Regions from separate parts of the Homo sapiens genome. Here regions 1 and 2 are each linked to region 3. The links are contacts of gene promoters, found by promoter capture Hi-C in blood cells and fetal thymus (Javierre and others, 2016). All regions are on one chromosome and are shown on one strand. The core of a region is centred on a gene start or on the middle of the fragment in contact, and the rest is flanking DNA. Distances in the headings are between cores, read along the strand shown.

What was found. The method cuts DNA at HindIII sites, captures the fragments that hold promoters and counts their contacts. A CHiCAGO score of 5 or more calls a contact.
Region 1: the fragment with the promoter of HROB here is called in contact with a fragment that was not itself captured in region 3 in 1 of 17 cell types (erythroblasts); the score reaches 5.5 in erythroblasts.
Region 2: a contact is called between the fragment with the promoter of ASB16 here and a fragment that was not itself captured in region 3, in 2 of 17 cell types (neutrophils and erythroblasts). The highest score is 5.5, in neutrophils.

Annotation. Positions count from the first base shown.
Region 1 is chr17:44,140,563-44,144,856 of GRCh38, reverse strand. HROB (homologous recombination factor with OB-fold) reads right to left here and starts at 2,927. Exons shown (of 10, transcript NM_001171251.3): 1 at 2,712-2,927. The coding sequence starts at 2,714. RefSeq lists silencers at 2,102-2,396, 2,643-2,702 and an enhancer at 3,003-3,172. The HindIII fragment of the contact is 21,085 bases long and covers 1-4,294 here.
Region 2 is chr17:44,168,588-44,172,767 of GRCh38, reverse strand. ASB16 (ankyrin repeat and SOCS box containing 16) reads right to left here and starts at 2,064. Exons shown (of 5, transcript NM_080863.5): 1 at 1,678-2,064; 2 at 455-722. The coding sequence starts at 1,978. The HindIII fragment of the contact is 23,995 bases long and covers 1-4,180 here.
Region 3 is chr17:44,389,489-44,393,288 of GRCh38, reverse strand. ITGA2B (integrin subunit alpha 2b) reads left to right here and starts at 3,640. Exons shown (of 30, transcript NM_000419.5): 1 at 3,640-3,800. RefSeq lists an enhancer at 3,424-3,483. The HindIII fragment of the contact is 1,622 bases long and covers 1,571-3,192 here.

The sequences.
Region 1 (4,294 bases), core at 1,678-4,177, 250 kb after region 3:
GTAATCCCAGCTACTCGGGAGGCTGAGGCAGGAGAATCGCTTGAACCCAGGAGGCAGAGGTTGCACTCCAGCCTGGGCGACAGAGTGAGTCTGTATCAAAAAAAAAAAAAAAAAAGACCCAAGTATTCTAAAAAACTTACTTAGCTGTGTGCAGTGGCTCATTCCTGCAGTCCCAGCTACTTGGGAGGCTGAGGTGGGTGGATCCCTAGAGCCCAGGAGTTTGAGGCTAGGCTGGGCAACATAGTGAGACCCGCCTCTTAGAAAAAGATTAAAACACTTTCTGCCAGGCACGGTGGCTCATGCCTATAATCCCAACACTTTGGGAGGCCAAAGCTGGTGAATCACCTGAGGTCAGGAGTTCAAGACCAGCCTGACCAACACAGTGAAACCCCATCTCTACTTAAAATACAAAATTTGGTCGGGCGTGGTGGCTCACACCTATAATCTCAGAACTTTGGGAGGTTGAGGTGGGGGCGGATCACAAGGTCAGGCGTTCGAGACCAGCCTGGCCAACATATTGAAACCCTGTCTCTACTAAAAATACAAAAAATTAGCTGGGCGTGGTGGTGGGCATCTGTAATCCCAGCTACTCAGGAGGCTGAGGCAGGAGAATCGCTTGAACTGGGAGGCAGAGGTTGCAGTGAGCCGAGATCGCACCACTGCACACCAGCCTGGGCGACAGGGCAAGACTCTGTCTTTAAAAAAAAAAAAATTAGCCGGGCCTAGTGGAGCATGCCTGTGATCTCAGCTACTTGGAAGGCTAAGGCAGGAGAATTGCTTGAACCCGGGAGGTAGAGGTTGCAGTGAGCCAAGATTGCACCACTGAACTCCAGCCTGGGCGACAGAGCAAGACTCTGTCTTAAAAAAAAAAAAGGAAAGAAAGATTAAAAAACTTTCTTGTAACATAATCCACTCAGAACCATCTGCACTAATCCTGGAAGGGAAGAAAGGGGGCAAAGGGAAGGCTGCCTAGGGGAGCAAGGGCAGTTCTCCAGGACTGTGCACATGGGCGTAAACATTTTGTTTTTGTCTTTTGTTTTGAGACAGGGTCTTGCCCTATTGCCCAGACTGGAGTGCAGTGGCAAGATCATAGCTCACTGCAGCCTCAATCTCCTAGGCTCAAGTGACCCTCCCACCTCAACCTCCTGAGTAACTGGGACTACAGGTGTGCACCACCGTGCTCAGCTAATTTTCTTTTTTTTTTTTTCTTCCTGAGACGGAGTCTTGCTCTGTTGCCCAGGCTGAAGTCCAGCGGCACGATTTTGGCTCACTGCAACCTCCACCTTCCAGGTTCAAGCAATTCTCCTGCCTTAGCCTCCCAAGTAGCTGGGATTACAGGCCAAGCCACAATGCCTGGCTATTTTTTTTTGTATTTTTAGTTGAGACAGGGTTTCACCATGTTAGCCAGGCTGGTCTTGAACTCCTGACCTTGTGATCTGCCCACCTCAGCCTCCCAAAGTGCTGGGATTACAGGCGTGAGCCACTGCGCCCAGGCTAATTTTTAAATTTTTATAGATACGGGGCCTCACTACATTGCCCAGGCCAGTCTTGAACTCCTGGGCTCAAGTGATCCTCCCACTGTGGCCTCCAAAGTGCTGGGATTATAGGTGTCAGCCACAGGCTGGGCATGGTGGCTCACTCCTGTAATCCCAGCACTTTGTGACGCCAAGGCGGGTGGACCACCTGAGGCCAGGAGTTCAAGAACAGCCTGGCCAACAAAGTGAAACCTCGTCTCTACTAAAAATAGAAATAAGTTAGCTGGGGTGGTGGTGCCCGCCTGTAATCCCAGCTTGTTGGGAGTCTAAGGCAGGAGAATTGCTTGAACCTGGGAAGTGGAGGTTGCAGTGAGCGGAGATCGCACCACTGCACTTCAGCCTGGGCCACAGAGTGAGACTCTGTCTCAAAAAAACAAACAAACAAAAACAGGTGTCAGCCACGGCCCCTGGCTTGGGCCTAAGGATTTTGCAATATCCCAAAGGTTTCGCCTGACCAATCTTATGTCAAACATAAGAGAAACTACCATAAATCCAAACATGTCTGCACAGTGGCATTGTTTCTGCAAATGAAGCCAGTAGTTTCCCTACCTAATCCAAGGCCCAAAAACTAGGGTCCCAGGAGAGTAGGATGCCCCAGTCCACGGTTCCTTCTTTCTAGCCAGCAGGGCTGCTGTAGCCAGTTCCTGATGAGTGTCAAACCCAGATCAGAGGTGGTGCCTAACCCCAGATGCCAGAGCCGCAGGAGCTACAGCTGGCGATACAGTTCCCAAGACTCTAAGGGTCAGAGTGAAAGGGGTGGGCGGGAGACGACGGTTGCAGTGAGCAGAGATCACGCCACTGCACTCCAGCCTGGGCGACAGAACGAGACTTCGTCCAAAAAAAAAAAAAAAAAAAGTAGAAAGTGTGGGGCGGGGAGGGGAAAGGGATGGACCCAAGCGGTAGTGACGTCTGAGCGCACTGGAAAGGGGGGTTTCCCAGGAGGGTAGGAAGGCAACAGGAGGGAAACTGAGGCCCGGGGGAGGAGAATGCTTTCTCAGGGTCTCCGGCGCGTCCATGACAAGCCCTGACGACAGCCCAGGTCTCCCGACTCCGCCGAACCCCCACCCAGACCCCGGTCCTGCAACTTGCGCGGGCGAGGGGCTGGAACCCCATGAGCAGTTCCGGAGGCCAGGGGGCCCTGCGGCCCGCCAGCCCCCAAGCTGGGCGCGGCATTACCATAGCGACGGCGGGTGGGCCTCGGCGGGGAGGTTGGCCCGGCACCCCGAGTCCGGGGAGTCGCCGGGGCCTTGGACACGACCCAGGTGGAAGTCTCGGACTCCGAGGGACAGTGCTTCCGGGCTGGGGTCAGAGGGATGAGTCTCTGCGATATAGGGAAAGTCGCCAGGAGACTGGCGGCAGGCGCCTTAGGCCGCATTCGAAGACGCCGCCACTGGGGCGTCTCCGCCTTCTTAAAGGGGCAGGCATATTTCTTTCCCGCCGACACAAAGGGCCTTCTCACTGTAGTCTTCCGCTCTGGTCTTAAAGGGGAAACGGATGGGCTCTCGGTCGCCCCCAAGCGGCTCCTCTTCCCAGTCGGCTGGTTCAGCACTGGTTCAGGTGAGATCAAGCATCTTGGCCCCACGATGCCTAATCCTGCCCCCGCCCCTTTCTTTTCCGTTCTTTTTTTTTTTTCTTTTTTAAACCGAATCTCGCTCTGTCGCCCAGGCTGGAGTGCAGTGGCGCGATCTCGGCTCACTGCAACCTCCGCCTCCCGGGTTCAAGCGATTCTCCTGCCTCAGCCTTCGAAGTAGCTGGGATTACAGGCGTAAGCCATGGCGCCCGGCCTCCCTGCTTGACTTAATACTGCTTCAGAGCAAGACTGTGGCTTTTCACCTTTGTGAACCAGCATGTGGCACATTGAAGACACTCAGAAAATGAGTTTGTTTTTGTTTTGAGACTTACTTTACTCCCTTACCCAGCCCGGAGTGCAGCGGCACAGTCATGGCTCACTGCATCCTCCACCTCTTGGGCCCAAGCAGTCCTCCCACCTCAGCCTCCTGAGTAGCTGGGATCACAGGCACACACCACCAAACCCAGTTAACTTTTTTTTTTTTTGACACGGAGTCTCACATTGTTGCCCAGGCTGGAGTGCAGTGGCACGATCTTGGCTCACTGCAACCTCTGCCTCTCAGGTTCAAGCGATTCTCCTGCTTCAGCCTACCAAGTAGCTGGGATTACAAGTGCCCGCCACCACGCCCGGCTAATTTTTTTTTTTTTTTTTTTTTTTTGAGACAGTCTCGCTCTGCAGGACAGGCTGCAGTGCAGTGGCATGATCTCGGCTCACTGCAACCTCTTCCTCCTAGGCTCAAGCAATTCTCCTGCCTCAGCCTCCCGAGTAGCTGGGATAACAGGCATGTGCCATCATGCCTGGCTAATTTTTGTATTTTTAGTAGAGACAGGGTTTCACCATGTTGGCCAGGCTGGTCTCGAACTCCTGACCTCAGGTAATCTGCCCGCCTCTGCCTCCCAAAGTGCTGGGATTACAGACGTGAGCCACTGCGCCCAGCCACGCCCAGCTAATTTTTTGTATTTTTAGTAGAGACAGGGTTTCACCATGTTGGCCAGGATGGTCTCGAACTCCTGACCTCAGGTAATCTGCCCGCCTCTGCCTCCCAAAGTGCTGGGATTACAGACGTGAACCACTGCGCCCAGCCACGCCCAGCTAACTTTTTGTATTTTTAGTAGAGACAGGGTTTCACTATGTTGCCCAGGCTGGTCTTGAACACCTGACCTCGTGATCCACCCGCATTGGCCTCCCG
Region 2 (4,180 bases), core at 815-3,314, 220 kb after region 3:
GCACACACCTGTAATTCCAGCTACTTGGGAGGCTGAGGCATTTGAACCCAGGAGGCAGAGGTTGCAGTGAGCTGAGACCACGCCACTGCACTACAGCCTGGGCAACAGAGCAAGACTTCGTCTCAAAAAACAAAAAAAAACAGCTAGGTTTGGCTACAAAGGATTCACAGGGTATTGGAGACTGCAGTTGGAACAGAGTTTTCCCAAAAAGCAACAGGGCTTCTGCCTCCTGGGCTTAGCAGATGTGACCTTGGACAAGTTACTAAGCCTTTCTGAGCTTCATTTTTCTCATCTGTAGGATGAGGTGTCTCCAGGTTATTGTGAAGATGTGTATATGCGGTGCTTTATGAACCACAAAGCTGCATGTGGTTGTCAGGTTCCCTCTTCTGGCCTTGTGAGCTGGAGACACACACACACATTTCTCCCCAAACTGTCTCAGCCCCCAGGCACCTACTGCAAGGACTCGGGGATCGTGCAGAGGTGCAAAGGAGTCGTGCCCTCCTCAGTCAGCACATTAGCCTTGGCTCCGAAGGTCAGCAGCAGCCGCACACAGTCAAACTGGGCTCGGGCACAGGCCTCATGCAAGGCAGCGCGACCCCCGACACGGGCATCCAGCTCAGCTCCCTGCCGGATCAGGTGTCGAGCACAGTCTGTGTAGCCTCGGGCTGTAGCGATGGCGAGGGGTGCCGTCTGCTTGGTCTTGGGGGTCAGCACCCAGAACCCTAGGGAGAGCAAATAGTTTTGGGAGGTGGTGTATAAGACAGGGCAGGGCAGGGAGTGGGGATGCTGGTTCCAGCTGACAGCTGACACTGGCCTTCCCTCTGCATGGTTTGCTGAGCACAAACACTGCCAGGCTGTACCTGTGGAAGGGGGCTTATTCAAGTCCTGAAGTGGAAGAATAAATTGGAACAGCCTTTTAATACAGCTTATCAATCTGTAACAAAACATAGTATGTGTCATAAAAAAATTAATTGCTGTATAAAACCACAGGGGCCAACTAAGTAGAGTGACTCCCATTAAGGAAATCTCAGCGTCTTTGAATGGCTAATAGTGTCAAAGGCTTGTTCACCTTGGGGCCTGGGGTGGTGGCTCACACCTGTAATCCTAGCACTTTGGGAGGCCAAGGCGGGATGATCACTTGACCTCAGGAGTTCGAGATGAGCCTGGGCAACATAGTGAGACCTTGTCTCTTTTTTTTTTTTTTTTAGGCAGGGTCTCGCTCTGTCCCCCAGGCTGGAATGCAGTGGCGCTATCTTGGCTCACTGCAAGCTCCGCCTCCCGGGTTTAAGTGATTCTTCTGCCTCAGCTGCTGAGTAGCTGGGATTACAGGTGCGCACCACCATGCCCGGCTAATTTTTCTATTTTTAGTAGAGATGGGGTTTTACCATGTTGGTCAGGCTGGTCTCAAACTTCTGACTTCGTGATCCGCCTGCCTTGGCCTCCCAAAGTGCTGGGATTACAGGCGTGAGCCACTGTGCCCGGTCAACTTTTAATTCTTAAAAGACATACAGACTGCTAACCCTGCCTCATCTCTGTTTAGGAGGGAGCTAGGATAGGTGGTGGAAAGGGCTGCTATAGTCTGTGGTCTGCAGGGAAGGAGGGGCCTAGACTCTCCCCCTTCCCCACCCACTCCCCTTCTTTCTCCCTCCTCTTCTGCCCTCTTCTGGTGCCCCCTACCCTGTTCAGCCGACCAGGCCAGCTGGTTGCTCACAGTCTCCACAATCATGTTGGCGGCCTCTTCATCTTGGAACAGGGCTTGGACCTGCTGCAGGTTGCCGGAGAAGAGGGCTTGGTGGACAGCTGGGTCTCGGCAGGAACGGTGAGGCCTAGTGAGTCGGGCCCGGGGACTTGACGGGCACCTGCGGCTCCGGCACTGCTGGGCAGCCGCCCGCCGCCGGTCCTCCCATTCCAGCCACTCCTGCTGCAGGCGGAGAGAGCGCAGCATGGAGGAGGTGAAGGGGAAGGTCTCTCTTGCCATGGATGGGGCCCAGGGGTTTGGGCAGTGGCACCTGGGCAGAGCCAGGTTCCCTCGACCCGACTACCTCCCTTGCTCTGAGGAGCCACCCTGCCCCCGCCACCGTGAGCCAGAGAAAGCAGCAGCTGAGGCTATAAATAGGTCCTTTGCTGCTCTGGTAAACATGGTTTGCTCAGAGTCATGATCCTGGTGCTGAGAAGCTGCTGGCCCAACCCCCAGCCCAGGGTGAGGGCCAGCCCCTGCCCCTGCCGATACCCTTTGGTTGGTCAGCAGGCCCTCAGCTGAGGCCACCCCCGAACCCCAGCATCTGCATCCACCTTCATCTCTAGAGCGAGCATCTTGGGTTGGCAAGGTCCAGGGTGCGCAAAAAGGTCAGTCATGGAGATGGGCAGGGCTGGGAGGAAGACAAGGTGCCTCCAGCCTCTCTGATGTTGGCTGGAGGGCAGGAGCCACCATTGGCCCACGTGGAGGAGAGAGGGCTGACCTCAGCACAGGAGGTAAGGGGAGGTCAAGGCAGAGTTACTGAGAAGGTGAGCAGCTCTTCCCAGCATCTGCAGTAACAGCAATAACTCTGTACATATGCACAGAGTTTCACGGTGTTTAAATCACATTCATATCCACCTTCACCCAGGGGATCATACTTCCCAGCCCACCCAATAATTAGTAAACTTGGTTTGGACAATAAATGAAATTATCACAGTTGAATGCCCCTGAGATGGGTGGTCTTATCTCTGTTTTACAGATGAGGAATTTAAGGCTTAACAAAGTAATCTACTGGCTCAAGGTCACAGTTTGTGAGAGGCAGAGCCAGGACCCCACATAGATGGTGTGCTTTGGGCCAAGAATGGTGGCTCATGCCTGTAATCCTAGCACTTTGGGAGGCCAAGACAGGAGGATTGCTTGAGCCTAGGAGTTTGAGACAATCCTGGGCAACACAGTGAGACCTATATCTTTTTTTTTTTTTTTTTTTTTTTTGAGACAGAGTCTCACCCTGTCTCCCATGCTGGAGTGCAATGGCACGATCTTGGCTCACTGCAACCTCCGCCTCCCGGGCTCAAACGATTCTCTTGCCTCAGCCTCCTGAGTAGCTGGGATTATAGGCACCCGCCACCATGCCCAGCTAAATTTTGTATTTTTAGTAGAGATTTAATTTAGGGTTTCACCATGTTGGCCAGGCTGGTCTCGAACTCCTGACCTCGTGGTCTGCCCGCCTCGGCCTCCCAAAGTGCTAGGATTATAGGCGTGAGCCACCACCCCCTGCCTCTCCATCTCTTAAAAAAAGAAGAAAAAAAAAAAAAGATGGTACACTTTTTGCCTTCAGCTGCTGCAGCCACCTGGCAGCCTCCCCCATTCTCCAAGCAGGACAGACTAGTCTGTAGAAACTGCCTTCAATCATCCTTTTTTTTTTTTTCTCATGGTGTCACCCAGTCTGGAGTGCAGTGGGGTGATCTCGGCTCACTGAAACCTCCGTTTCCTGGGGTTCAAGTGATTCTCCTGCCTTAGCTGCCTGAGTAGCTGGGATTATAGGTGCATGCCACCATGCCCAGCTGATTTTTGTATTTTTATTTATTATTATTTTTTTTTTGAGATGGAGTCTCGCTCTGTCACCCAGGCTGGAGTGCAGTGGCGCGACCTCGGCTCACTGCAAGCTCCGCCTCCCGGGTTCACGCCATTCTCCTGCCTCAGCCTCCCGAGTAGCTGGGACCACAGGCGCCTGCCACCACACCTGGCTAATTTTTTGTATTTTTAGTAGAGACAAGGTTTCGCCGTATTAGCCAAGAATAGGATGGTTTCGATCTCCTGACCTCGTGATCCGCCCGCCTCGGCCTCCCAAAGTGCTGGGATCACAGGCGTGAGCCACCGCGCCCGGCCGATTTTTGTATTTTTAGTAGTCGGTTTCGCCATGTTGGCCAGGCTGGTCTGAAACTCCTGACTTCAGGCGATCTGCCCGCCTCGGCCCCCCAAAGTGTTGGTATTACAGGCGTGAGCCACAGCTCCCAGCACCTTCAATCATCCTTGATTTATTTTTTTAACCCAGCTGCTAAGGGGGCTCACATGGCCGGCCTGAGGAGAGCCAAGGGGTTGAGCTGGAAACTCTGGGAATGGACCTAAGATGTTTAAGCCACAGACCTGTTCACTCTTAGGAGAAAGCAGCTGTGCTTCCAGGAGCCTCTAGGGGGAGGAATGAAGCCGTGAAACCACACA
Region 3 (3,800 bases), core at 1,132-3,631:
ATGCAGCTCATTTTGTATTCATTGCTTCCCAGTAAAATTGTAATCTCTGAGAGAACAGGGAGTGATTCTTATATCCCCCCACCGCAGCCCCCAACGTATCTCACACTGAATACATAGTAAACATTTTGATTATATGTTCAAGAATATGAGCAAAGTGGCCAGGCACAGTGTCTCATGCCTATAATCCCAGTACTTTGGGAGGCCAAGGCAGGAGGATCTCTTGAGCTCAGAAATTCGAGGCCAACCTGGGTAACATAGCAAGACCCCATCTCTACAAAACAATTTAAAAATTAGCTGGGCATGGTGGCACAAGCCTGTGGTCCCAGCTATTCATGAAGCTGATGTGGGAGGACTGCTTGAGCCCAGGGGTCAAGTCTGTAGTGAGCCATGTTCAGGTCACTGTACTACAGCCTGGGTGACAGAGCAAGATCCTGTCTCAAAAATAAAAAGAATATGAGCCAAGTAAAATATCATTAACTGAGGATTGTGCATCAGAATTGAGCCAAAAAAAATTCAAAAATGTGTTTTTTGGTTTTTGGTTTTTTGGGTTTTTTGAGATGGAATTTTGCTCTTGTTGCCCAGGCTGGAGTGTGATGGCACGATCTCGGCTGACCGCAACCTCCGTCTCCCAGGTTCAAGCAATTCTTCCTCAGCCTCCCAAGCAGCTGAGATTATAGGTGTGCACCACCACACCCGGCTAATTTTTGTATTTTTAGTAGAGACAGGGTTTTGCCATGTTGGCCAGGCTGATCTCAAACTCCTGGCCTCAAGCGATCCGCCCACCTTGGCCTCCCAAAGTGTTGGGAGATTACAGGTGTGAGCCACCATGCCCAGCAAAAAAAAAAAAAAAAAAAAAAAAAATTGTTTTTTAGGCATAGTCTTACTCTTGCCCAGGCTGGAGTGGAGTGGCAAAATCGTAGTGCACTGTAACCTAAAACTCGTGGGCTCAAGTGATTCTCCTGCCTCGGCCTCCTCAGTAGCTGGAACTACAGGTGTGCACTACCGTGCCTGGCTAATTTTAATTTTTTTGTAGAGACAGGGTCTCACTATGTTGCCCAGGCTGGTCCCAAACACCTGGCTTCAAGCAATCCTCATCTTGGCCTCCCAAAGTGCTAGGGTTACAGGCATGAGCCACCAAACCTGGTGTAAAAAATCTTTATAATTTTATTTTTCTTTTCTTTCTTTCTTTTTTTCTTTTTTGATGGAGTCTCACTCTGTCGCCCAGGCTGGAGTGCAGTGGCATGATCTTAGCTCACTGCCACCTCCGCCTCACAGGTTCAAGCAATTCTTTTGCCTCAGCCTCCCAAGTAGCTGGGATTACAGACACACACCACCACGCCCAGCTAATTTTTGTATTTTTAGTAGAGACGGGGTTTCACTAGGTTGGCCAGGCTGGTCTCAAACTCCTGACCTTGTGGTCCACTCGCCTGGGCCTCCCAAAGTGCTGGGATTACAGGCATGAGCCACCATGCCCGGCTAAAATCTTTATGATTTTCCATCCCCCATGGATTAAAGTTCAGATTCCTTAATATGGCATTCAAGGACCTCCAGTAATTTGAATCCCCAAGCTTTACCCCCTTGCGCCTCAGTCCAACCCTTTAAGCATTCTGCTATGCTGAGTCAACTACTTGTCCTTCCCTACCTCTGTGTTCCTTTGCTGCTCTCATGTATTCTCTATGCCTAAAAACCCTTTCATTCTCTGACAAAAGGCAACTTGAACATGAGTTCAAGTGCAACCCATGTTTGAATCTTAGTTTTGCCATCTGTTGGCTGCGTAAACATGGGCAATTTACCTAAAACTCTTGTGCCACAGTTTTGTGTTTATAAAATGGGCATAATAGTACTTATTTCCTAGGGTTGTTATGAGTAACAATGATATACGACTTTGATAATCTGTGTATTTTTCAAGGCATGCTTGACTGTCTCTCTGCTGCAGTTATGTGTGTTCATGTCTTAACTCTTTCTGGGCTGTTTGTTAAGTCTCCTTGATGGCTATCTTTGGAGTTTTTAAAATATTTTATTTTTTATAATTTTAAAATAGAGACGAGGTCTCACTGTATTGCCTAGGCTGGTCTTAAATGCCTGAGCTCAAGCCATCCTCCTGCCTCAGCCTCCCAAAGTGCTGGGATTACAGGCATGAGCCACTATACCTGGCCTAATGGTTATCTTTGTATCCTTTATCAACACAGTGCCTTGAACAGAGTAAATACTTATTGAAAACTTGAGTGAAATGTAAGTTCATATTTGGCCTCACAGAATACACCAGTAATACAGCAATCACTCACCTGAGGACAGTGGGAGGATAGAAGGTAAGTAGAGGACTGGGTTAAGTATTCGTTCAAGCAAATACATTAATTACACGCCTCCCATGTACTTGACACTGGGAACTCAGCAATGAAGAAGGCCCAGACCAAAGTTCAGGCTTTTAGCTTCCTGTCCTATAAAGGATAAGATTCTTAACTCTAGGCTGAGGTAGTAAATTACGAGGGGACTTCAAAATGGTACAGGGTGGTTGAGCAGGATACGGCAATGGTTAAGTTTGATCAGAAAATAGAAATCAAAAGGAAAATGTGGCTATGGTTACCCCTAGCGGACCTCTTAAATCTTCCTGAGAACCTGCTTTTTTGGGAAGGCATGAGTGCCAGTAAGACTTGGCACTCCTCCTCTTCCGCTTACCGAGAGAAAATGACTTTGCCTTTCTGCTCAAAACTCATCCCTTCACTTTGTCACCCTATGTTTGCATCTTCCATCCTTAGTGTGTGTTTCCATCCAGTCTTTCAGCAATACACGTACTACACATTGGACTCTTGGGTAGTCTCTAGGGCTGTAGCAAGGAGCCTTGCTCCCAAGGGACTCATTTACACAATCCTGTGAACGGACCAAGAGTAAACAGTGTGCTCAATGCTGTGCCTACGTGTGTTAGCCCACGCGGCCAGCCTGAGGAGTCAGGGAAGGCTCCCCTAGGCAAAGCCCCCAACCAGAATCAAGTCTTAATGGTTAAAGAGCTCCATCACCCAAAAAGGATTGAGGGCCTACCTTCAACTGAACAGCTAATGCATAATCTCAGAAACTGTGAGTCAAAATTCCCTGGAATAACTCCACTTTATCCCCAATCTCCTTGCCACCTAGACCAAGGTCCATTCACCACCCTGTCCCCAGCACTGACTGCACTGCTGTGGCCACACTAAAGCTTGGCTCAAGACGGAGGAGGAGTGAGGAAGCTGCTGCACCAATATGGCTGGTTGAGGCCGCCCAAGGTCCTAGAAGGAGGAAGTGGGTAAATGCCATATCCAAAAAGATACAGAAGCCTCAGGTTTTATCGGGGGCAGCAGCTTCCTTCTCCTTCCCCGACCTGTGGCCAAGTCACAAAGCACCACAGCTGTACAGCCAGATGGGGGAAGGGAGGAGATTAGAACTGTAGGCTAGAGTAGACAAGTATGGACCAGTTCACAATCACGCTATCCCAAGCAGAAAGTGATGGTGGCTTGGACTAGCACGGTGGTAGTAGAGATGGGGTAAAGATTCAAGAGACATCATTGATAGGCAGAACCAATAGGACATGGTAATAAACTATTCTCAGGAAAGGGGAGGAGTCATGGCTTTCAGCCATGAGCATCCACCCTCTGGGTGGCCTCACCCACTTCCTGGCAATTCTAGCCACCATGAGTCCAGGGGCTATAGCCCTTTGCTCTGCCCGTTGCTCAGCAAGTTACTTGGGGTTCCAGTTTGATAAGAAAAGACTTCCTGTGGAGGAATCTGAAGGGAAGGAGGAGGAGCTGGCCCATTCCTGCCTGGGAGGT